4 separate regions of the Homo sapiens genome follow, and regions 2, 3 and 4 are each linked to region 1. The links are contacts of gene promoters, found by promoter capture Hi-C in human tissues and cell types (Jung and others, 2019). All regions are on one chromosome and are shown on one strand. The core of a region is centred on a gene start or on the middle of the fragment in contact, and the rest is flanking DNA. Distances in the headings are between cores, read along the strand shown.

Region 1 (6,343 bases), core at 2,578-5,077:
GATAGCCAAGTACCCTCAGGCAAGTCAGTGCCTCTCTCTGGGCCTCAGTTTACCTGCAAAAGCATTCAACTAGCTAATATCTAAGGACCATTTCTAGCCTAATGGCCTGTGAGTCTATGACTCAATGAACTCTCCCAACTCGAGAAAGAGAGAGGACTATGATAATGACATTCACAATCGACATTTCCACCATCTATTGGGTGCCTACTATGCGCTGGGAACCCTGCTGGGCACCAGGTCCTCCTCGTCTCACACCTACAGTGCAGCCTCCTGACAATCTTCTCACTTCTGATCTTCTCCCTTTTAATCCATCCTGCATACCTGGCCAGTTTCAGCTTTCTTAAACCCTGCCTGCTCCTTTGCTCCAGAACACTCAGTGGCTCCCCAGTGCCCCTCAAGGTCAAGACCCAACTCCTTAATGTGGCAAGCGAACCTTCCATGCTCAAGCCCTTCCCTTTGTCATGGACTCTCTGACAGACTGTGTTGTCTCTTTGTCTAGTCCTCCCCATTCCTCGTACTCAGTAGGTGCTCAATAAATATTTGTCGAGTGAATGAACACATGGATAAAATGTTTCTCTAAATTAGGCTACTCAAACTTTAGTCCTTTGCAAAGCAGCCACAAGAGTTTTGCAAAAATCTGCACACCATGTCTATTTTTATTTACTTAAATATTTTCCTTTTTTAGATTAAATAAATGTATCTCAAAAGGAAACTTTACATCATGCTATAACTAGAAGGCCAATATTACTTGCCAGAAATAGGTCTCCATTAAAATAAATACAAGGACAAATGAGCAAAGCATTCAATTCTAACTAGATACTGTTGTCTACCAAAGCTGGCAGCCTCTCAGTTAAAATGGGATTAGTCAGTGCTTTGGAGAGGTGTTAAAGACTAAACCAGCACCAACCTGAGACTTGCCCATTGACAGAAATCACAAGGATGTAACAAAGGGATGAATAGGGGAGAACTGTTTCACTCCAAGTTATTTCACTCCACTGAAAATTATCCTACCTACCATCAGAGGTTGGCAGCCTACATTTTGGAAACCTTGTTCTACAGAGCCCACAGCTCCAGCTCAGGAGGTATGCATATGAGTTCTCTGAAAGACTTCAACTCAGGCTTTTTGAAAGAGTATTGGAAGCCCTGCATGCAACTACCTCGCCTTCACAATATAGTGTCCCTATCTGAAGTCTCACTGCACCAGAGACAGCTCTCAGAGCTCGACTGTGATAAGAGTTTGTTGGAAACCATCTTCCTGGTGGAATAATGAGCTCTCCCCATCCTTGCAGAGATGCAGACATACGCTGGACAGTCATGGGTGTAGGGCAGGGGCAGAGAATGCCAGCGGGGGCAGGGAATGTCATGGAGATAATTCAAGCATCAGATGGTCAGCCTATGAAATTGACCTGATAGCTAGAGTTTGCTTTCATATGTAAGCAAAACAAATCCAGAGGGATGAAAAGAGAGAGGAATTCATTTCTGGTCAGCAACGTAGAAAAAACAGAGAGACAATTGTGAATGAGGTTACCCAGAAAACACGAAGGACAAAAGGGGGATGGGAATGGCTATTATTATTCCTTTTTATAATGCTTCATAATTCTCAATCCAACACTGGATTCATGAAGACTATTTTGGTTTTAAGCAACATAAACTGAATTCAAACTTGTGTAGCATAGGAAAAACAATTTAATGATATAAATAGCTGACACTGCCTTCAGGTATGGCTGGATCCAGGGACCTGATATACATCAAGACTCACTCCACTCTCTGTCTCTCAGTTCTGCTCTCCTCTATGTTGGCTTCATTTTAGGTCGGGTCTGCTCAAGTTCTGCAAAGATGGCTGCCAACACCTCTATGCTTAGGAGCTTTGGTGGAGATTGAGTTTCTGTTTGACAATAGTTTTAGCAAAAGTCCCAGACAGAGTTCTCATTGGCCCAGCATATGTCACACGTCCCCTCATTGAGGTCAGAGTGATGTGCTCTGATTATCTGTGCCCTGGGTCACATGTCTGTCTCCAGGAGGAGGGAGCCCCACCCAACCATATTGAATATGAGTGAAGGAGGGGAAGTTTCCCAAATGAAAATTGAGGTTCTGTCACCCAAAGAAGTTGAAATGAATGTCAGGCAAGCAAAAGTAGCCTTCATTTTTGCTACCCTTGTATCTCCACTCAAAGCTATGCCCCACATCTCCATCCAGACAGCTCCTACTCATCCTTCAGACCTCAGTTCAAATGGCGCTTCCTTGAGGAAACCTTCCCAAACCATCCCACACTAGACTGGAATCCCCTGCTGGACTAGAATCCCCTGCATGTGTGCTCCTGGCAGAGCTTGTCATTCTGGGTTTGTGCGGTTATTTGATGAAAGCCTGTCTCCCATACTGGACTGGCATCACCTTGAAAGCTGTGGCCTGTCTTGTCCATCGCTCTGTCCCTGGAGCCTAGGACAGTGCCTGGCACACAGGTGGAACTCGGGAAATATTTATTTGAAATACCAACGGAAGTCCACAGCACATATGACCTGGTGATCAGTGGTGGGAGGTGAATGGGTCAAGAAAGACACCAAGATTCCCTGCTCATGAGTGAGAGTGTGGGGAAACAGAAGAAGTCAGGGTGACCTTGGTGAGCACTGCCCTGGGGGACTCGAGGATGGATGAAAGCAGGGAGGAGGCCAGATTAGGTGGGGTAGAGGACCTGAGGTCCATCAGCAAAGGCCATCCCTGGGGACAAAGAGAGGAGGGGAAGAGTAGGTCTGGGCTGGAGAGAAGGAATCTTTTCTCTGAGTTCCTGGGGACCCCAGAGGGAAGGGCAGATGTGGCCCCATTCCCAGAAGCCTTTATAAAAGAGGGTGGGGAGGTCAGGCCTTGGCAAGGACAAGGGAAGGAGTCCCTACGTGCTGGATTGGGATTGGCTGGAAAGGGGACTTCTCTGGGAGAATCCCTCAAACCTCAAGAACTGAGAGAAGGGTGTCTGGGGCTCCTGCCACCATCCCTGTTTCCCTTTTAAGTAATCTGTTTCCCCATCTGTCCATCCATACACACAGCCACTTGTGTCTCCATGACCAACCGCTGGCAGTGGAAGGGTGTCCTTCCCACCCCCACTCTTACACACACTCCCAGCTGGTACCCAGAGCCTGGTCACCCCAGGCCAGGCCTGTGTTTCCAGGTGTAACGGGCAGCAGACGCTGCCCTAGGACTAGAGCAGGGAGGGGGCACGGGCCCACCCCAACCCACAGCGACCCACAGAGGGCGAAAAGAGGACGACCGCAGAGAGAAACGGAAAGGACAGGCCAACGGAAGCAGTACTGCAAGGCTGGAAGGAGAAAAGCCAGGAGGGGAGTGCTTGCTGTGAAAGACAGGGAGACAGAGACCAAGACGGACAGGCAGACAGGCTGGTGACCCAGGATGAGGCCGGAAAGAGCCATCAAAGGAAGGAGAAGGAAGGAGAGAGATTGGAGCGGGACGGCGGGGCAGGCGAGGGAAGGAGGGGGTGGGGAGAGGGAGGGAGGAAGAGAGGGGAGAAAGAGGGAGGAAGAGAGGGGAGAAGGAGGGAGAAGAGAGCGGGAGAATGCGAGAGGAAAGAAGGGAGAGGGGAGGCGTAGAAGGGGAGAGGAGGTGAAGGGAAAAGGAGAGAGCCTGCTGGCGGCGAAGCTGCAAGAGGCAGCTGCGGAGGGAGCGCGCGGCGGGCCTGGGGGAGCGCTGGGCGGGGGCGGGCGGTGCGGGCAGGGCTATACCCGAGCTGGGCGGGCTCCGGGCGCCGCGGGCCCTGCCCTCCCCCTCCATCCCTCCGGACTCGCTCCCCCCTCCTCTCCCTTCCCCGCGACCCTCCGCCCGCCCTCGGAAGACCGAGACAGCGGAGAGGTTGCGGGTGAGCTGCGCTGAGCCCAGGAGCCGAGGAGTCGGGAGCGCAGTAGCGCTGAGCCCGAGCCCGAGCGGCCCCGCGTCCCGAGCGCATCGGAGCGGCCGAGCCGCCCGGATGCAGCGCCTGTCCCGGGCAGCGCAGCCCCGGCCGCAGGTAGGAAAGGGCGGCCGGCGTCGGGGCGCGGGGCGCAGAGCCTGGGATAACGGCGCAGGAACGGCCAGAGCCCCGAGCCGCTGCCGCGAGCCGGGCCGGGTGGGGGGCGGACACCTCGAGATTCAAGCCCCCGCGCCGCACCTTCCCTGAGCCACATGAAGGAGCAGAGGCGCCGCTCGGACCCCGACGTGCGCCCAGGCCATCCGTCCCCTGGGACACTCGGGAGGCAGGAGGGCTGGAACAGAGGCGAGAGTTGCATGCCCCTTCCCTCCCGCGGTGCCCCACTGGCCCCGCAAGTTGGCACTGGATTCTGCTGGAGCCGTCGAAGCTCCCTATTCATTCCCCAGGGCATGGAGGGGACGCGGAGTGAATGACACGAGCAGCGTTGGGGGGCCGTGCGCCACTTTCCCAATCCTGGGGTCAGCTGAGCCGAGTTAGAGCTATGCCCCTCATTTGTTCTCTGCGGGCTACGGCGGGGTCGGGTGCGACTTGAGGATGGGACGTCTCTGGGACAGCCCGAGCTCTCAGAAACGTTGGCTTAAAAGCACACCGGGGCTTGGGCTGAGTGCACCGGAGCTAAGCCTAGTGCACCAGAGCTCGCGCCGCGCTCTCCCAGCCCCGACTTTCTCCAAGAGATGTGGGGTGCGGGCGGTCCCTTAGAGGGCTGGAGGACGGTGCCTCCTTGCTGCTTCGGGAACTGCGCTCCCCTTCTTGCTTTTGGTCTCTGCGTGTACTCCCCGGCGCGACACCGCTCACCACGGTAGCCTCGGGCAGTGCCCATTGGGTTCTGAGCACACGTCCCCACGGGTGGCACCCACAGATGTCCTGTTCTAGGCTTGGCTCGGTCTTCAGACAAGAAACTCAGACCGGGCAGTCCCCTATTGAGGCTCTGAGCTAATATCCTCCCAAAATAGACATGAACCACAAGGAGAATTTTTTAAAAGCCAAATGATAACACCACGTTCTTTCCGGATGTGGGGCTGGAGCGCTCATTCCCTTTCCCAGGAAGCTCAGCCTTATCCCCATGAAGAGCTGGGGGGGCGGGGAGGGCGGGAATAAAATGGCTCCTGAGATTTGTGACACCCCAAAAATCAGAGACGGTATCAGACTGAGTGGCATTGGGGGTCTACCTTTGTTTTTCTATGACACACAAGGTGGGTGTTTGGCAAGAGAGTAGGGATGTTGGGTGCTGGATAGTGCCTAGATTCTGTGTCTTTGGGAACTTTGGGGGAAGTGTCCTCCTAAGGGAGCCAAAAAGGCTGCTACCCCAGTCCCCCAAATTCCAAAACAAAAGAGGTCAGTGAAAGCTACTCGCATTTTGCATGTTATCTCTTTATCTTTGGAGCACATTGGGAAGGACTGACCCAGCTCCAGATCAGGGTCTGATTGGGGCAGGACAGACCCTCTCCAAGGCAGAGAAGGGGAAAAAGAACTTGCCCTTAGAAGTGGGAGTCCCTGGGGGAGTGGGACAGACCTTTTCCCAGAGCAGCCCTGGCAAAATGGCTGAGCCTCCCTTGAGCCTCAGAAATAAATCGTCAGGCAGGCAGCAAACAAAGAAAGAGCTCTGTCTCCAGCCAAGCACTGGCTCAGTGGCCAGTCCTTGGAGGACAAACAGTGAGTCCCAAGCAGAGAGACGCAGCCCGGCCTGTCTGGCAGAGCATCTGGAAAGTGGGGTTCCCCTAGGAACACACAGGAGAGAGGCAGCCACTCTGGAGGTAAAATCAGGGACCCTCTGTCCTGATGTGGGACACTTTATTTCAGGTCTGGAGGCTTGATGAGAAGTGGGTCTCCAGGAACTTAGATGGGGCTGGGAAGGATGTCTGGAGACCAAGGAGTAGGTAGCTTAGAGGGTAAAGATGAGGCAAAATCAAGTCCATCGAAGCCAAAAGATGCACAGTGGCCACGTCTCTCCTGCCTGCCACGGATTTTACATGCCTGGTGACCCCGGAGCAGCAGAGGCTATAAATTTTTTTACACGTGGCCCAGCACACAGCAGGACCTCAATAAACCTCTTAGAATAAAGCCTGCATGGATGGAAGGTGATGCTATCACTGGCATGGACCTACCTGCAATCTGTACCTGTCTCACTGAGCCAGGAAGGCTATAAAATGTGGCCCCTTAGTCCATAGCCGGGAATGAACGAGCCCCAGATGAGGGTTTGCTTTGAGCTGGGGCATTGCCATTTCTGGCCAGGTGACCTTGGGTACGTTCTTGTTCCTGTTGGAAGGAAGGAATGGAGTACCCAAAGCTTCCAATGTGCCAGGGATTATTCCTACAAGAACCGTGTGGAGCAGGCACTATTCTAATCCCCACTTCAGAGGCGATGAAACTGGA
Region 2 (6,343 bases), core at 1,874-4,373, 52 kb after region 1:
TATATTTCTTTGAATTTTACTGATGCAGGACTTTTTTTCATGTCCTTTCTGGCCTGTTGTATTTATTTTGTGAATTTATAGCTCATGAGCATCTTGCTGTTCTTTAGAGATGGGCTCTCGCTCTGTCGCCCAGGCCGGAGTGCAGTGATACAATCACTACTCACTACAGCCTCGAACTCCTGGGCTCAAGCCATCGTCCTGTCTTGGCCTTCCCAGTAGCTGGGACTACAGGCATGAGACACCACGTTCAGCTAATTTTTTAATTTTTCTTTTGTAGAGACAGAGTCTCGCTGTGTTAACCAGGCTGGTTTCAAACTCCTGGCCTCAAGCAATCCTCCTGCCTTCACCTCCCAAAGTGCTGGGATTATAAGCATGGGCAACTGTGTCCAGCCAGCATCCTGTTTTTGTATTTGTCTTATTTGTTTGGAAGAGTTATTTTTAATATATTGAGGATATTAACACTATCTTATGTATGTTGAAAATAAATCACAGGATGTATATGGATAGGTATATGTGTATGTGTATGTACATGTATATGTATATGCGTATGTACATGTGTATGTATATCTATATGTATAGATATATGCATATGCACATGTATGTGTGTAGATAGATATAGATAGATGATAGATAGATGATAGATAATCTAGATAGATAGATAGATAGATAGATAGATAGATAGATAGATAGATAGATAATCTCTTCTCCCAAGGAAGTCTTTCTGTTTTCTAGTTCCTGGCTTCTTACTTCCAAACCTTTTACAGTTTGAGCCAAAGGCTAGGAAAACATTTTCAGCCATCCCCTTTTCCAACCCTGTGCTAGTGTAGCCCCTCTCTTGGGTGGAAATGTGAGAGCAATTGCATCTTCCACTCAGGGCTGAGGATTCATGGCTTAGTAAGTGTCAAGTGTTTAGAACAGGGCCTGGTACATAGGAAACTCTCATATTGAGCCATTCTGTGACTTTCTGTGACCGCACAATAGCACCAGCTGCTTACTCTTCTCTCTGTCCTCACAAACCAGCCCTTTTATGATCCTCGTGGAATCTTCCCTGGCACACCCTTCAGGCTCACTGAGCCACGGTCAGGGCTGCTCAGAGAAGGCAGGTGTTGAAGTAGTGGCAGTTCATGACAACAGTGATAATGATAACAACTATTCATTCAGGCCCTACTAAGTTTGAGGCTCTGTACCAACCACCCCACAAGATTTTTCTCACTTCTCCCTTGGGACCACCCCATGGGGTATGGCTGACCCTTCATGTCAGTGCTCCAGCCATAACACTGAAGTCCCTTTTCCATCTTCATTTTTGTGCACACTGGCTCCCGCCGTGCCTGCACTCTGACATCCAGCACTTCTGTCTGTGTCAGATACAAGCATTATTTTTATAATAGGAAATACATAATAAACTATATTTTTAAATACACAAAGTCATGGCTAGGCACATTGGCACATGCCTGTAATCGCAGCACTTTGGGAGGCCAAAGCAGGAGGGTTGTTAAGACCAGGAGTTCAAGCAAGACCCACCTAAGCAACATAGCAAGGACCCATCTGCACAGAAAAAATTTAAAAAGTTAGCCAGGCATGATGGTACATGCCTGTAGTACTAGCTATTCAGGAAGCTGAGGCAGGAGGATGGCTTGAACCCAGGAGTTCAAGGTTGCAGTGACCTGTGATTGCACCATTGCGTGCCAGCCTGGGCAACAGAAGGAGACCCTATCTCTAAAAAAAAACAAAACAAAACAAAACAAAAAGGTATACAAAGTCACGTGGGCTTGTCAATGTGGAGAAGGACAATTTACTGACAAGGCATCTCATTATAATGCACATAAAATTAAGGACTTTGTATATTTTGCTTTTGGAGGAAAATCTTCTTTCACCAAAAAATGCTAATGGGACATGGGTGAGGAGACCAACCATGACAGACAACTCTAATAATATCCTAACATGAGCGAAGGAGAAATCAAGGGTTCCAGTGATGTGTTTACTGATGTTTCACCTGATACTGTCAAAGAGAATGTCTTGGTGTTTTACTTGAGGTTGGTGTCAGTTCAGGTCCGCCAAGAAGCAGATGCCAAGACAAATGTAGCAGCAAAATGGACCTGTGGGTAAACACCTTGAAATTTTGTATTGATGTATAATAATTGCACATATTTATAGGGTACATGTGATATTCTGATACATGCATACAATGTATAACGATCAAATCAGGGCATTTAAGATGTCCATAGCCTCAAATGTTTATCATTTCTTTGTGTTGGGAACATTTCAGATTTTTTCTTCTAGCTATTGGGGTAAACACCCTTAAATGACACAGGGGAGAAAGGGCAGGGCCAGGCAGGAAGACACCCAGCCACATTGATGGCTGGACAACAGGAGAAGGAAGGAGTCATGTGTGGGAAGAACCATAGACTGCAGTGCAGCGCTGGGACAGTCTCAGCCAGCCCGCCAGGAATCCCCACTGCAAAGGCTGTGCTTTGAAGAGTTCCACATTGAAGAAATGTCCAGGCCCTATTAACTCCACTATGCACTCAGTGCTGCCAGGGACAGTGTAAACTTGGCTCAACACTGTGGGACATCCCAAAGGCACTGCAACTGGGGGCCACTAGCCTACTGTACTCCCCACAGCAGTTCTCCAAATTACAGGAATGTGGAGGCAAGGAAAAGATATCCTTATTTCCTGAATGCCTTCTGTGTGCCCGGCACTTTCTCGTGGAATACTGTTTACTCCTCACCACAAACCTACAGAACATTGCAGGTAATTACTGGCATTTTGATATGGTGTGCATGTTCATCTCCTCCAAATCTCATGTTGAAATGTGATCCCAAATGTTGGAGGTGGGCCTAGTGGGAGGTGTTTGGGTCATGGGGGCAGATGTCTCATGAATGGCTTGGTGCCCTCCCCATGGTAATGAGTTTGCACAAGAGCTGGTTGTTTAAAAGAACCTGGCATCTCTCTCTCTCCCTCTCTCATATGACACACTGACTCCCCTTCCCTTCCACCATGAGTAAAAGCTTCCTGAGGCCTCATCAGAAACCGAGAAGATGCTGGCACTATGCTTCTTGTACAGCCTGCAGAACTGTGAGCCAAATAAACCTCTTTTCTTTATAAATTACCCAGTCTCAAATATTCCTTGATAGCAGCACAAAAAGGACTAATGCACGTTTATAGATGAATTTCCTCAGGCTCAGAGAGGGAAAACAACTTTCTCACAAAGCCACAGAGCTGAAAGTCACAGGACTGGACCCTGAGCCCAGATCCTTCCACTATAGCACAGTGGCCTCCATGGTCACAAACATGGCACAGGGTATAAGGCAAAGATCTAAGACCAGGCAGAGTTAAGGCAAGAGGGGGATCAGGAAAAGCCCATGGCATCAATATGAGGGGCTTCTGCCCCTTTCCTGCTGGAGTCTTGTTACAGCCCAAAGGGGTTCTTCTTGCCCACTGCAAGATGAAGCCAGAACATTGAGACAGCAGTGTTGCTGTAGAGAAAGGGTTTAATTATCACAAGGTAACTAAACAAAAGGATGGGAGATGTTTTTCAAATCTGCCTCCCCAAGAATTCAGAAGCTAGGGTTTTTAAGTGTACTTGAAAACAGCAGGCAGAGGGCTGGGAAACTGAAACAATTGATTGGCTGGGGACAAAATCACAGGGGTCTCTAAACTGTCTTTGAACAGCTGAGTCAGTTCCTGGGAGGGGATTTCAGGATCATGTGGCATCTCTTGATCTCCTGAAATGCTAAATCTGAAAAACATCTCAAAGACCAGTCTTTTAGGTTTCACAATAGTGAAGTTATCCATAGGAGCAGTTGGGGAAGTTACAAATATCACGACCTCCAGTTATGTGACTCTGGGGCAGTAAGCAACATATAGAAAAGCAAACTAAACAAGCAATGGATGGTTATAGTTCAACCTATTCTTTAGCGAAGTTGTAGGCCTCTAGCATCATTCTAACCTTGTTACCTTTTGTTAGTCTTTACAGATACGATTGCAATTTCCAAACAAAGAAGGGAACAGCTCCAGGAAGGGGCTGCTATGGCCTCCGCACAAGAATGAGCAAAAGCAAACTAGCCTGGTAGAAGCAAGATGAAGTCAGGTATGTTCGATTTCCCTTACTACTACAATTTTTGCAAAGGTGTTTTTAGCTTCAGAAATTAGCCCCACATCTTCTGCCAACCCCTCTGGAGGCAAGGGCCTGCACTGACCTCGTAGGCCTGCAGGGGCTTCAGGGTAAAATGCACAGACTGAATTTACAAGGACCATGCCAGGAAACACCGGCCCAGAAGCCCCATGCACAAATCCTTAGCGGCATCTTCAGAAAAAGAAAGCTTTAACCCAGCAGTGCACATAAGAATCAGAGAGTGTGCTGGGCAGAAAGCTGATCCCTAGACCCCATCCCAGACACTCTGATGCAGGAAGTCTAGGCTGGTGCCCAGAAATTACATTCTAATAAGCACCTCAAGCCCTTCTAGTGGAGAAAGTCATCCACACATCACATCAAGAAATACTGTTAAAAGCAATCCTGGAACCAAAATTGAGGAATAGTATACAAAGCAACTGGCCTATGCTCTTGAAAAATGTCAAGGTCATAAGAGACAAAGACCAAGGAATTGTTCAGATTAAAGACATGACAACAGAATGCAATTTTATCCGGAAATGGAACCTGGCCCAGAAATTTTTTTCTCTTGCCGTAAAGGACATTAGTGAAACAATAGATGAAATTTGAATAAGATATGTAGATGAGATAATAATATTGTATGGATGATAATTACATGATTTTGATCAATACACTGTGGTTATGTAAAAGAATGTCATTTATTTAGGAAATGTATGCTGAAGTATTCAGGCTAAAGGGGAAACTTGTCTACAACTTATTCTTAAATGACTCAGAAAAAAAAATACAATATAGGCTGGGCACAGTGGCTCACACCTGTAATCCCAGCACTTTAGGAGGCCCAGGTGGGTGGATCACCTGAGGTCAGGAGTTCAAGACTAGCCTGGCCAATATGGTGAAACTCCGTCTCTACTAAAAATACAAAAATTAGCCGGGTATGGTGGTGGGTGCCTGTAATCCCAGCTTCTCAGGAGGCTGAGGCAGGAGAATCGCTTAAACCTGGGAGGCAGAGGTTGCAGTGAGCTGAGATTGTGCCACTGCACTCCAGCCTGGGCAACAGAGTGAGACTCTGTCTGAAAAAAAATAATAACAATACAGTATATACATATATAATATGTGTGTGGAGAGAGAGCATAAGAGAGAATGATAAAGCCAGCAAATGTGGAAAATAACATTTGGGGAATCTGGGTGAAGAGTATACAGAAACTCTTTATATGAGTTTTGTAACTTCTATTTATTTATTTATTTATTTATTTAGAGATGGGGTCTTGTTCTTTTGCCCAGGCTGGAGTGCAGTAGCACAATCTGGGCTCATTGCAACCTCCATCTCCCAGGTTCAAGCAATTCTCCTGCCTCAGCCTCCCGAGTAGCTGGAACTACAGATGTGCACCATCCCACTTGGCTAATTTTTGTATTTTTAGTAGAGATGGGGTTTCGCCATGTTGTCCAGGCTGGTCTCAAACTCCTGACCTCAAGTGATCCACCGACTTCAGCCTCCCAAAGTGCTGTGATTACAGGCATGAGCCACTGTGCCCAGCTGAGTTTTACAACTTCTAAGTCTGGAATTATTTTAAACACACAAACAATCTAGGAAGAAGCTGGGTATCACCTTTATTTGATGAGAAAGGTACAGGTTTGGAACAGGTTCCTACGGTGGGGAGGGGGATGGTGGAGCAGGCTCTAGCTTTCACCAGGACCCGTCCCCACTCACACACTCCCATCCCTGTCATTGCCCCTCTTCTCCTGGTAAACTTCTCCTCAGGTCCCAGCTGAGAAGTCACCTCCCGGGAGCCTACCCAGGATGTGCTGGGCACCCTCCTGTGCTCCAAGGCTCCTTGGCACTGTGGTCCTCCCACCCTGGCCTATGAGCTTCTTGGGAGCTGAAGGTTGTTGGGGGAGACTGTCTCAATCTTCTTTGTGTCCCCAGGCCTGGCACAAAATTTGCCACATGCCAATGATTAAAAGAGATCTGCTTTTATTAATAGCTTCCTATTCCTGAAAGCCAGCATTTTGCAATACACACCAGCTAAGTGCTGCCTAACCTCTGTGTCATTAATATCTATGAAAACCCATAGAGCAGGTCTAATTACTCCCACTTAATGGTGCTTAGAGAAATGAAGTGACTCGCTTTAAAAAAACACTGAATGAATGCATGCATGCGTGCATGAAGGAAAAAGATACAGAGTACTCTGTGACCCTAGAGGAGCCAAAGGTGTGTGTATTGGGGGTAAGAG
Region 3 (6,343 bases), core at 1,841-4,340, 51 kb before region 1:
AGGCCCCCCTCTGCCCTGATCCCATGAAGTGACCTTGGGCACTCCCTTTCCCTCCCTGGGCCTCAGTTTCCCCATCTCCCAAATGGGAGGAGGAGCCGGATTGGGTTATTTCTTAGGGATTCTCTTTGTGTGCCTTGCTGGCTTCCAGACCTGCCGTGGACCTTGGCTTCCTCTGAAGACTTGCAGGCAATAATCTCCGCCCTCCCAGTTGTACCTCCTCCCCACCTGCTTATTTAAAATCAAGTTTATTGTAGAAATGGTGTGGTGTTGATGTGTGTTTTCCCTAAAACTCTAATTTCATCTCATCTGTGGGCAGCCCTGCTCTCTGGACACCAGTGGGTCCTCAGCCCCCATGGCAGGGGCTCCTCTGTCTGGCCTGCCTTTTTTTCCTGGTCAGCTGCTCTTAGCGCCGGCTCTGCCTCTCCACCCTTGGCAGGGCTGGCTGGAGTTGCTGTGGGGACTGATTTTCTGGGTGGGGAAGCAGCCATCTATTCTTGCAGCCATCTCAGCCAGGGTCTATGTCTTAGGACCTTCCTCCGGCCTTCCATGAGAAGCAGCCACAGGGGGCCTGGTTTCCTCCTAAGGCCCTTCTCTGTCCCAGGCCACCTCTTCTCCCTCCTCCTGTCCCCTAACCTCCACCTACCACCATCCTCCCTCTCAGTTCTCTCCCATCCTTGCCCCTGGTTCAGGAGCCATTCTACCTGCCTCAGTGGCCAGGCGCAAGGCTACAGGTGCAGTCACCTGTTCCCGGCCACCTTCCCTCCCATCTTTGGCAGACAGAAGTCTCAGCTCTCACTAGAGGGAAGACCTGGGCATCCTGCTGGCTCCTCTCTCCGTGGGGCCTGGAGTCTGGTGCTGTTCCCCAGCCAGCCTGGCTGCAGACCTCTCTGGCTGATACCGCTCTTCTTCTTTAATTGGACTTCATATCAAGCCTCTGCCTTGGTTTCTGAGCTATATGAGGGTGGGGAAGGCACACTCTTTTTTCCTTTTTCCTTAGGTTCCCAATATTATTTGGTGGAAACGTGGGCTTTCTCCAAACCAAGGCCTGAGTTTCCTGTAAGGGTCCTCTGTTTTTGATTCACCCAAAAGTCTGCAAACCCCCAGCATCTCTGCTCTGGCCAGCCCTGATCTGAAGCCTGTGTCTACTAAGAGGGATGCCCAGTGCCCCACTGGGCAGGACGGGAAGCCTAGCCTGGGCCCCCTCTGTGCACACAGTTCAGGCCTGCCCAGCTTCTTATGGGCAAGCCACCATCCCACTCTCGTCTCCCTGAGCTGTCTGGTTCTGCGGACCCAGGAAGGGCCAGGCTGGGGCCCTGCTTGTGTTTATCCTCGGCTGCTGTCTTCCCAGCAGGCCCCAGGCAAGGAGGCTTCCCATTGCTGCTGCTACCGGTTCTCCACAGATCCCTGTGGTCCGCCATCGCCGACACACACACACGTCGTAATGTGGCTAACGCTTGACTCACTTAACACTACTCATGGGGCAGGGCGGAGGGTGGATTGTTGCTTTTTGTTTTTTGTAATTTCCTACTAGTATTTGGGTAACTTTGGGGGTGGGGAGGGCAATGTGGGGGCAGGGGAACATGTCATTGTGATGACTTTTTTGATATTCATTAGAAACAATACATCCTTTCTGAGATATTTACAGTATTATTAAAAAATGAAAAAGGTTGTACTGTTTTGCATAATGAACATTTTTATTGGGCATTCAAAGGGTGCAAGATTGTCTGCTTACTCATTTTTAAAAATTAAAGAAATGAACAATCAGTGTGGCTATTCCTAGCAAGGTGGTATTCGTTGGGTTTTTTGTCCTGGTTTTATTCCCTCCATGATATGCCTGCAAAACCATCTTGGGTCCCTGTGTGGAAGCTGCAGTCTCAACTCAGCACTACAAATTAGAAACAAAAGCAGTGGTGTTTTAGGAGCCCAGACTTCTTTAGGTTCATGTATTTACCATTTGCCTAGTATGTGCTAGATGCTTTACAGAAGTTGTCTTTTTAATCCTTACAACAACTCTGTAAAGTAGGTACTTCTCCACTTTATTTATGTATTGCTTTATTTCTTTATTACTTCCCCTGTTTTACAGATAGCCATCTATTCTTGCAGCCACCCCAGCCAGGATCTATGTTCTAAGACCTTCCTCCAGCCTCCCATGAGAAGGAGCCACAGTGGGGCCTGGTTTTCTTCTAAGGCCCTTCTCTGTCCCCAGCCGCCTCTTCTCCGTCCTCCTTACAGATAGGGGATTTTGCGGCACAGAAAAGTCAAGCAATTTGCCCACGGTAACACAGCTAGTAAACATCAGGACCAGAAAGAGAACTCAGGTGTGTCTGACCCAAAAGCCCTGTCTCCTGACCACAATGCCTTATTGTTTCTCGTGCTATGAGGCCTAAATAAAGCAACAGCCCCCTCACAGTGGTGAAAATAGCTGCCACAAAACTTATGCTTGTGTCCTAGTAGGCAGACACTCATGTTTGAGGCAGGCAAGGCAGAGCACAGAGAGATGAGGATTTGGAGTATGCAGCCCTGAGTTAGGCTCCAGGATCTGCCCTTGCCAGCCTCAGTTTTCTCATCTCCAAAATGGGGATAATAGCTCCTGTTTCAAATACAGGGTCTAACTCTGATGAGGTAATGCAGGCATCACGGGATCATGAAGATCCCGTGAGCTCTGTGTGTGAATGGTAAGGTTCTGAATTCACACTAGTTATTATCCTGAATAAATAATGCCTAAGCTCAAAAAGTGTTTGTAGTATTGCCTAGAACTTAGACTAAAGCCTCTAAATTTGTGTCTGATATTTCTAAATGGCTACTCTAGACCACAGGCATGTTTTGTCCTGCCAGCTCATGACAGTAAGATCATCTTATGCAGTGTCTACTCATTCCTGTCTGGTCAACTTTTTGCTTGAAATCCCTGATCTCAAGTCTACCTGACCCTGTCTTGGCCTTTGATCCTCTCTGAGGTGGTAATATCTGCTCGTAGGAAAGCATCCCACAGACTTCTGGAATTCAGAAAGTCTCTGTGATCCACAGCCAGGGTCCCTGAGTAATTCCTACCCTCACAGAGCCACAGGGATTGCTGCAGTCACCTGTTCCCTGCCATCTTCCCTCCTCATGTCTGAAAGTGTCTTGCATTAAGCAGCTGTCATATGCAAGAGGAGGCTGAGTCACAGAAATATGAGTTTCACTCATTCCCAGGAAACTTCATTTGCAGACTCTTGAGCCTATAGAATTAATAGCATGAGGAATTAATTGACGCACTAGACCCCTCCAGGCTGCAGTGTGTGCTAGTGACCCCTGCTGGCCAAGTGGGACACTGCAGGCTGCCTCTACTAGACACTGCCAATAACCAGAGAAGGGGAAAGGAGCTTTGGCAGTGAAGTCAAGGCTACCTCAGGCCTAACAGCATTTCCCATGGGGGAGGGGATCAGGCACCAAAGAGCAGGCATATTCTGCTGAAAGTGGCCAACTTTGGAAAATTGAGTTCTTTCATGCATTCAGCAGCCCTTTACTGAGCAGCCACCATATTCTTTGTGTGGACTCAGGACTAACAGCCCCTTCCCTGGAGTGTTCCTACTCTTAGGAGGAGAGGTGTCCATACGCTTCTGGACAGGAGTAAGTTCACAGGGAGATGCTGTTCTGATTCTGACCTCCTGTTCCTAGCCGTCTTCCAGCCAGTTAGAGTTCTTCAGTGTGGCAGTGAGCAAGTCTGCCCACTCCTTGGGCCTCGGTTAGCCACTGGTAGAATGGCAAAGAAATGAGACCCAGAGAGGGAATGTGATTTGCCCAAGATTCCCCTAGAACTCTGTATTCCCATCTCATAATCAGTCCCCTGCACCATCTCAAGCCGTTAAAAAGCAAATGAGCTTGGGCCCCTCATTACCCATTAGGGAGAAAAGTCAGCCTTTGTTGCCAACTCTGGCCACTTCTCTCTCATTTTTAAATAATGCCCACTTTGTGAGGGATACTGGAAAGAGTAACACATGCAGCACTCTCTGAGCATCCAGCGTGGCTCAAGTGTCAGAGCCACTTCACAGGAAACCATATGGCAGGATGTGCCATGGACTGAGTGCTGGGGAAGTACTGCAGGCAGGAATAAGAACTGTTTATGGAGCACCTGCTGCGTTCCAGGGTCGTGCCTGCATTACCTCATCAGAGCCTCACAACAAATCTAAGAGGTAATTGTCATTAATCCCATTTTTCATAGGAGAAAACTAGAGTTCAGAACTGTAAATAATGTGCTCTAAGAGATACAAATTACACCTCCTGGCAAGTGGAGGAGCTGGGTTTGGATCCAGGTTTGCTGGATCTAAATAAGGCCCATGTGCCCAGCCACTTAACCAAGGATGTGGGACTTGAGTTGCACCTTGGGGGATGGGAAGACTTAGGCAGAGAAGGACATTTGAGATGAGGGAACATCCCGAGTGATGACAGAGGCTTTGGGAGAGCAGGGAACCAGGGTACTCCCCATTCACTGCAGCCTCCACTTTCTGGGCTCAGGTGATCCTCCCACCTCAGCCTCCTGAGTAGCTGGGACAACAGGTGTGTGCCACCCTGCCCAGTTTTGTTTTTTTTTTTTGTAGAGACAGGGTTTCACCCCAGTCTACTTTCTATAACCCCTCATGTATCTTCACCAATCTCTCTGGCAGAGCAAGATCAGGTAACACCATGCTTATCATGGAATGGCATCTGATGCTGGTCCCCCCACAGGACAGGAGCTTGGATGAACAAGTGCCCAGCTTGCCCCAGAGTGGGGAGCCATGGGAAAAGGAATACATAGGCATTGAAGACCTACTCAGTGCTGGAGACCATACCAGACACTTTCCTATGCATTACCTTGCCCTCAACTGCCTTGTAAGTTGGCATGGTGTTCACATTCTACCAGGAATGAGGAAACAGGCTCAGAGAGGTAGATTCAGCTACCCAAGGTCACAGAGCTGGAAAGTGGTAGAGCCGGGGTAACAGCCCAGGTGTGTCTGGCGCCAAGGCCCATGCACTTTCCACCGACCACCTGTAGTAGTCAGGCTTCTCTAGAGAAACTTCTCTAAACATTGGATAAAAATATATAGAAAGAGACTTATTATAAAGCATTGGCTCATGCAATTATGGAGGCTGAGAAGTCCCATGATTTACTATCAGCAACATGGAGACCCGGGAAAGTCAACAGTGTAGTTCCAGTCCAAACCCAAAGGTTTGAGAGCCAAGAGCACTGACGTGCAATGGCAGGAGAAGATGGATGTCCCAGTTCAAGCAGAGAAAAATTTTCCCTTCACCTTTTTGTTGTACTTGGGTCCTCAAAGGATTGGATGACGCCTGTCTGCCTTGGTGAGGGCAGGTCTTGTTTACTAGGTCTACTGATTCAACTGCTAATTTCTTCCGGAAACACCCTCACAGAGACGCGAGGAACAATGTGTACCAGCTATCTGCACATTCCTTAGCTCAGTCAAGGTGACACATGAAATTGACCATCACAGCACTGTTGGGAGCCACTGAGTGTCACCACAGCCATCAGCATTGAGAGGTTACTCAAGGCCATAGAGAAGCTATGGATGGTGGTGGAGGCCATGTGGGGAAGGTCTGAGGGTCTTCAGGGGCCTTGGAATGCCTTTGGTGACACTAGGGACCTCTGGAAACCTTCACAATTTCCCAGAAAACGATAGAAGGCCATGAGAGTTCACTGATAAAGACAAGGGGATGTTAAAGCCAGTGAGAGGCATTGGAAGTACCTGGGAACCCCCAGAGACCTGAAAGAGATGTTGCAAGGGGAGAGGGCCTGGAGACCCAGTAGAATTATGTGGAGCCATTTGGGAGTTACGAGAGACTGGGAGTGACAGGAGTATATGAGAGTCATAACGGCTACTGAAAAAAAAAAGGAGGCTCATTGGGGAGCATTAAGAGGTGCTGAGAGCCATCAAGAGTTATAAAAAATATCAGGGCTCTTGGTCATGACTGGGGGGTATTTTAGTCATCCAGAGTCCTAGGGAGTACTTGGGGTCACCTTGGGGGGCCCTGCCTGGGGGAGCAATATGCAGGATGTAGCCTTGAGGAAAGGGGAGGAGGGTAGCTCAGAAATGCTCTTACAGCGGGGCGCAGAGATGGGGGAGCTGGAGCCAACACGAATAAAGGGGCCGGATGCCCAGCTGCCATAGATGGAAAAGCCAGGCCAGAACTCCGCAGACCACGATAGGCGGCCGGCAGGTACATGATGGGACAAGGACTTTTTGACCTTGATCTTCCTAGGCTTGTACAGGCCTGAGTTTTCTTGAGATTCCCAACCTGGGTGTGCCAGATCCCCCATCTGGGTCTAGCCAACACTTGGCTTTTCTTATTCTCCTGGGAATTTTCTCTGCCG
Region 4 (6,343 bases), core at 975-3,474, 33 kb before region 1:
TTCTCTCCCATCCTGCTCGGGCCTTTGACCCTGTTTTCTACCTCTTGCCAGTCTAGGGAGAAGGAGGCTTGAACACTCAAGTACAGACCATGGGGGCTGCAGGGGAGGGCCTTCTGGTTTGCGTTGGATGTTCTAGGGGTATTTCCCACCCACCGTCCTGACTTGATTTGCAGTGGGGCTGATGTGGGGATAGGGGAGCAATGTGGTGGTCAAAACAGTACAGGCTTTAGGACCACCAGATGCAGTTCCAAACCCAGCTTCCCCAGTTCCAGGCTTCATGGTCTTGTGCAATTGGCTCCATTTCTTCCAAGCCTCTGTTTCCTGACCCATACAATGGTTCAATGAGATGGTGCCTACACAAATCCTAACTTGGGGCTTGTGGAGAGGAACACCCCGTAATCAGTAGCAGCGATGCCTATTATTCTAGTGCAACAGAGGCCACAAGCTAGGCTTGGGATGCAGCCAGACCTGGGCAGGAATCCTGGCTCTGCCCTCCTGGCTGTGTGATTTGGGACAGGACTCTGCCTTATTTCCAGCACTTTCTTCATCTGTGAAATGGAGGTGCTCACCTCCTAGGCTTATGTGAGGTTACGTGCATCGTGCATCGATGTTTGAAACAGAGCCTCGGCAGAACAAGCTGTCACCAGTGCAAGCCGTTCACGGTGATAATCGAGAACGATGTGTGAACTTACTCACCACATGTCTATTGAGCATCTCGCTGCGTGTGGGGCCCTCAATCCAGCAGGGAGGCAGACGCACGAGCTCCAGGCTCACCAACAAGGGGACTGACGATCCCAGTACAGGTTCTCACCCGCTCCATGATCCAGGACCCTGAGTGGAGGACACCTGGCTTAGTCTAAGCTCTTTGCTCACCAGAGGGGTCTCAGGGAGGGTGCTGGACCCCAAGTCAACCAGCCAGGGAGGGAGGCCAGGGGCCCCAGCACACCACACTGCCTCACCCACAACATCTACCCACTTGATAAGCCTTGGCCACTGCCCAAGTGGGCTGAGGGGAGCTGGCCTTGAGCTCTAGGGAGTGGGGCATTCAGAAGCAATCAGTGGCACTTGTGGCTTGGCGAGCTTCCCAGCTATTTGTGACCCAGCAGCTCTCCTTCCACAGCTGCTGGAAATTGAGCCATGGAGGCCACTTGATCTAGACAGCTATTGCTCAAGAGTTCCTGTGCCCACATCTCCAGGACATGAGCACCTATTCCCATCAGCCACGGATGGGTGGCCAGAGGCAGAGGGAGAAAGCCAGGAGGGGCCTGCAGAGAGTGGCCCCACGGCAGGCCTGAGGGGTTAGAAGGGACACCTACAGGTCCTGAGGGCCAGGGAGCCTATTCTCCCATAAGTGCCAGGGACGTGCTCTTCCCAATAACCCTCCCCAGGAAGTGACCTGAGCCAGCGGCTGGCCATGTCCTACTGAGGTAGAAATGTCCCAGGACTCCTTCTGGGGGTGGGCAACTTAGAATTTGGGATCTCATAAAAGGGGAAGTAGAGCCTCAGGCTCTGGAGCCAGGTTTGTATCCAACCATTGCCACTTACTGGCTGGGTCTCAGTTTTCTCATCTGTAAAATTGAAACAATAATAACAGTACTGACCTCCCAGGGCTGTAGGAAGGTTTAAATGAGTTCATACAAATAAAGTGACTAGAGCAGGGCTTGGCACATATCAGGGACTTACTGAGTATTAGCTGCTATTGTAGTTCCCCCCTTATCTACACTTTCACGTTTTGCAGTTTCCGTCACCTTCAACTGCAGTGTGAAAATATTATATACGATAAGAAATTTTGAGAGGGAGAAAGACATTCTCATAACTTTGACTACAGCATATTGTTATAATTATCCTATTTTATTGTTATTGTTAATCTCTTACTGTACCTAACTGATAAATTAAGCTTCATCATACGTCTGTATGGATAGGAAAAATCATAACACATATAGAGTTTGGTACTATCTTTGGCTTCAGGCATCCACTGGGGGTCTTGGAAAGTATCCCCCACAAATAAGGGGAGACTGCTGTGTTCCTATGAAGAGTGAACAATCCTGCCGGGGCAGGGAGCTCAGGTGAGCTGAATTATCGGGCAGTTACCTAATGAAAGCAGATGGAAATACAGGTGTGTTTTGCTGCTGGAATGCATTTGGCACCTCTGCTCTTGACCGCTCTGATCTCACCACAGCTGTCTATGCAGGCTCTTCCTTTGCACTCACAGATTATGCTCAAGGGCGTGCCAGAGTCTTTGCCTATATGTGGTGGCGGGTCGGTGGGGGGCACCCACAGAGCTCACTGGGGCCCCGTGCACGTGCAACTCAGAAGTCCAGGGAAGTTAGCACCCCGTTCCTTGCACCCCTTGAGAAATGGGGGACTGGAGCTGATGGGCAATTGTGGAAGGGCTTCTGTATGCCCCTCAAAGATCCTGGCAGATTCACGTCCCTGTTGCTACCATGGCAGCCTGGATTGCACGGCCTTGTATTGGCTTCTCTCTCCCTGCCTCACTCTTCTGGCTCCCTCACTCCTATTCTCAGGTGTCACCTCTCACACCTCTCACACGAACTACCTCAAGCCAGTCCTTGTCTGAGATTCTGATGTCAGGGGAACCTGTGTCTGGTGTAGAAGCCTGGGTCCTAGTGCTGGCTCTGCCATGCCCACACAGTGTGGCCCTGCACAGGCCAATGCCGTCCTTTGGGTCTTGGTTCTTTTGTCGGCCCCATGAGTGGGTTGGATCTTTGTGACCGTGACCTGTGGCATGGATGACACAGGTATTAGGGGAAGTCTGGATGCTCCCTAGGTGGCCTCACCCTCCCTGCCAGCCTCAGGGCCTCTTCTTCCCCCAACTTCAGTCCAAATCCCTTCCTCATCCTCCAGGTTCCTCCCACCACTTGCCTTCTGTCTGCCCCAGAGCAGTGTGTGATGATGCAGAGGCCAGGGGCCAGGGTCTATCCACACACAGTTTCACACATGCATGCTCATGCCCCGTGCACGTGCAAGAACATGTGTCTGAATGTGTGGGCCCACGTGTGCATGTGCATGCGTTTTGCTCAACCTCCAGACTATGGCCCCACATGGCCTATGGGCGCTCAGACAATCCAGCCACAACTACGATTAGGCAGAGGGGATCCAAGGTGCCCTCTGCCTGAGTGAGAGGCCTGCAGATCACCTTTTTGCACTGCAGGCCTGGCCAGTCAATCCCAGGGAGAGCAGATGGGGGCATGAGGAAACAGAGATGCTCTCAAGGGGATGGACTAAGTAGGAGAGAGGGAAGAAAGGACCTCAGTTACTGGTACCAAGTGTTCACAGATGTCATCTCCTCTTGTCCCCACAACCAGGAGGTAGGGATTAAGACCCCACTCTATAGATGGGGTAGTGGAGTGTGGCAGGGGAGGGGGCTTTATGTAGACTTGAAGTTCAAATCCTGGATCCATTACTCACAGGCTTTGGGAAAGGGCCTTGATATCTCTAAGTTTCAGTATCCTAGTCTGTAAAATGGGCCATTGATTTCTCCTCCTCAGGATTCTACTGGGTGTCAGGGGGAAAAATGAGCACAAAATACTTTTATAAAGCCCAGCATCTGTCACAGAGGAAGTGGCTCTAAAGGAGGACTATGATTATAGCTAAGATGACATGAAATGGGAGTCAGAGACTATGGACCCAGACTCCCACCTTCCCCCATTACTGTCCCTTTGGTGGTGCTGGTCAGCCCCTTGTCCTTGATGCAAGGTGGAAGGTGAGTTCCTGGGGGCCTCCCCTTCGCCCTGCCACAGGTGCACCCACCGCTCATAAGCAGAACATTGGGGAAGGCAGCTATGGGTGGGTGCCTGAGCCCCTCCCACCCTCAGAGACAAAAATAAAGTGTATAACTGTCAGAAGCATTATGGAACTGTCAAAGGTAAATGAAGTCATTCCCGTGAATTATTAATAAGTCACGAGCCTACCTATTCAATGACAGTATAAAAAAGAAAAAATATTTATCAAAAAAATTTTTTAAAAATTAGGGTGGACAAAGTGGCTCGTACCTGTAATACCAACACTTCGGGAGGCTGAGGTGGGAGAACTGCCTGGAGTTCGAGACCAGCCTGGGCAACATAATCAGGCCCTGTCTCTACAAAAAATAATTTTTGAAAAAATTAATCAGGCATGGTGGTGTGCACCTATAGTCCCAGCTACTCAGGAGGCTGGGGTGGGAGGATCACTCAAGCCCAGGAATTTGAGGTTGCAGTGCAGTGGCTGTGATCACGCCACTACCCTCCAGCCTGGGTGACAGAGTAAGACCTTCTCTCTTAAATAAAAAAGAGATATTTTTTAAAAAATTAAAACCAAAAGGAAAAAAGAAATGCTGTGGGCTGTGGGAATAGTTTGCCATGAGTTTGCAGAACCCAGGAGCCAAGTGTTAGGAGAAACCATGGGCCCTGGGCACAGAATGTTTCAGAGCCATGGAAAGTGATGCCCATGCGGGAAGAGGGGCCCATCAGCTTCACCTAGGCACTTGGTCCACATGGAGCGCTAGATGAGCAGTGAGAATTGCCCCTGACATCGCTTGCTTCCTGTCCCCATGGTTCATTGAATCTGAGAGCAGCAGCCTCAGCTGTCTGGATCTTCACCCATCCTGCTCCAACCTAATTGCCTTTGCCTAGACCACAGTCAGAGCTGGTGACTTTGCCAGCTGTGGCCTCACCTCCCTAGACTCCAGCTCACTGTGGAAACTACAGAGCCCAGTGACCCATCACTTCCACTGCAAGAAAGGCTGGGGATGCACTCTGACAATAATTGCCTTTCTCCAAGCAATTCAAGGTAACTAATCAGCACCATGATGCTGGCAGCTGTGACTGCTAATGGAGCTACAAACTGTCAAACTGAAGGTAATAATTGTCTCCTAAAAAAAAAAAAAGAAAGAAAAAAACTAGTTAATTAGCATAATCAGGGAATAAATGGGCCAATATTCCTAACCCAATGTGGGAGATGAATATGAACTATGGGGCCTTCAGGGTTTCCAGTGGAGAGAACAACACCAGCCAGGAAGTTGGGGGCCACCAGCACAGAAGGGAGAGGAGAAGAGGGTAGGAGATGCCTGTGTATTTGGAGGTATTATTGTATGAGTGCTTCTGGAGACGTTGTTTTATGTAAAATGCATGCCTGTCTTCAAGGCAGTGATGTTCATCTTGGCATTTCTCCAATCCATCCCTTTGATGTGTACTTACTGAGCACCTGCTGGGAAGGCAGCCAGTATTTATTCTTGGCAAAAAAAAAAAAAAAAAAGAAGAAGTTCACAAAGCGTACTCCCATCCTCTAAGCTGCTTATCCACCTTCCCACCCCAAAAAAGGATCTGTTCTCTGGGTTGTCAAGGTAAGACGAGAGCTCATTCGAAGTCATACATGACTGGTAAGGATACCTAGGGGGCCCTGGGAATTGAAAAACAATCTCTCAAAGTCATCTGTCAAATCATGGCAGGCATTGACTGCCTGATATTTGTACCCTTCTGATGGGTGTGTTCAGAGGGCTGGGGAGAGGCATGAACTGATCAGAGTAAAGCAACCCTTCTCTAGACTCACTGTGTGCTGGGAGTTTACCACGACTATACATACATTTGCTTAGTCCTCCTCATGAGACTGTTAGGTGGGTACCATTATTATCCCCATTTTATAGAGGAAGAAACAGAGGCAGAAAAATGGCTAAATGACTTATTCAACATCAACCCGATAGTAAGTCCCAGAGCCGGGATTTGAATACAGGAAGCCTAAATCCAGAGATCATGCTCTTAAGTCTCAGTCTAATACAGGAGAGTTAAGCTTTACAAAGCCAAGCCTCCATAAGAGAGGGCAGGAAGTAGAAGGGAAGCATCACATACTGAGCACCTAGCACATGGAAGGCACTGAGCTGAGGACCCTCAAGAGCTGGAACTTATCGCCAAGGCACTTGCGGCAGAAGCCAGGAGTGGCCGACACATCTACAGTGCAGGGCCCTAGGGCAGTCACTTCATGTGCTCTGGGTTTGAATTCTGGTTCTCCACTTACCAGCTAAGTGCCCTTAGGCAAGGGACTAAATTTGGGTTCCCCTGGAAGCTGCCCCTGAAACAAGGATTCAAGCCTAAATAGTTCATTTGGGAGGTAAACCCAGAACACATTGATAATGAAGTGAGAAAATTTATTAATATTATCTATGGTATAACAAATTATCCCAAAATTTAGCAGCTTAAAACAACCAAGACTTATTATCTAATTGTTTCTGAGGGTCAGGAATCTGCGAGTGGCTTAGCTGGGTGGTTCTGGCTCAGGGACCCTCACGGGGTTTCAGTCAAGGAGTCAGCCAGGGCTCCCATCATCTGAAGGCTTAACCGAGGCTAGAGGA

The links. The method cuts DNA at HindIII sites, captures the fragments that hold promoters and counts their contacts. A contact is called where the count stands out against the background at its distance.
Region 2: a contact is called between a fragment that was not itself captured here and the fragment with the promoter of SLC6A1 in region 1, in 1 of the 25 tissues and cell types used here (dorsolateral prefrontal cortex).
Region 3: a fragment that was not itself captured here is called in contact with the fragment with the promoter of SLC6A1 in region 1 in 1 of the 25 tissues and cell types used here (pancreas).
Region 4: a fragment that was not itself captured here is called in contact with the fragment with the promoter of SLC6A1 in region 1 in 1 of the 25 tissues and cell types used here (spleen).

Annotation. Positions count from the first base shown.
Region 1 is chr3:10,988,921-10,995,263 of GRCh38, forward strand. It overlaps SLC6A1 (solute carrier family 6 member 1), which reads left to right and starts at 3,828. Exons shown (of 16, transcript NM_003042.4): 1 at 3,828-4,009. RefSeq lists an enhancer at 4,148-4,672. The HindIII fragment of the contact is 17,540 bases long and covers 1-6,343 here.
Region 2 is chr3:11,041,534-11,047,876 of GRCh38, forward strand. No RefSeq gene overlaps it. Among named protein-coding and RNA genes, the nearest start is that of SLC6A1-AS1, 25 kb to the left of the region's middle. RefSeq lists a silencer at 4,070-4,364. The HindIII fragment of the contact is 4,784 bases long and covers 732-5,515 here.
Region 3 is chr3:10,938,951-10,945,293 of GRCh38, forward strand. It overlaps SLC6A11 (solute carrier family 6 member 11), which reads left to right. Exons shown (of 14, transcript NM_014229.3): 14 at 1-1,764. Among named protein-coding and RNA genes, the nearest start is that of SLC6A1, 51 kb to the right of the region's middle. The HindIII fragment of the contact is 8,537 bases long and covers 1-6,343 here.
Region 4 is chr3:10,957,461-10,963,803 of GRCh38, forward strand. No RefSeq gene overlaps it. Among named protein-coding and RNA genes, the nearest start is that of SLC6A1, 32 kb to the right of the region's middle. The HindIII fragment of the contact is 3,231 bases long and covers 610-3,840 here.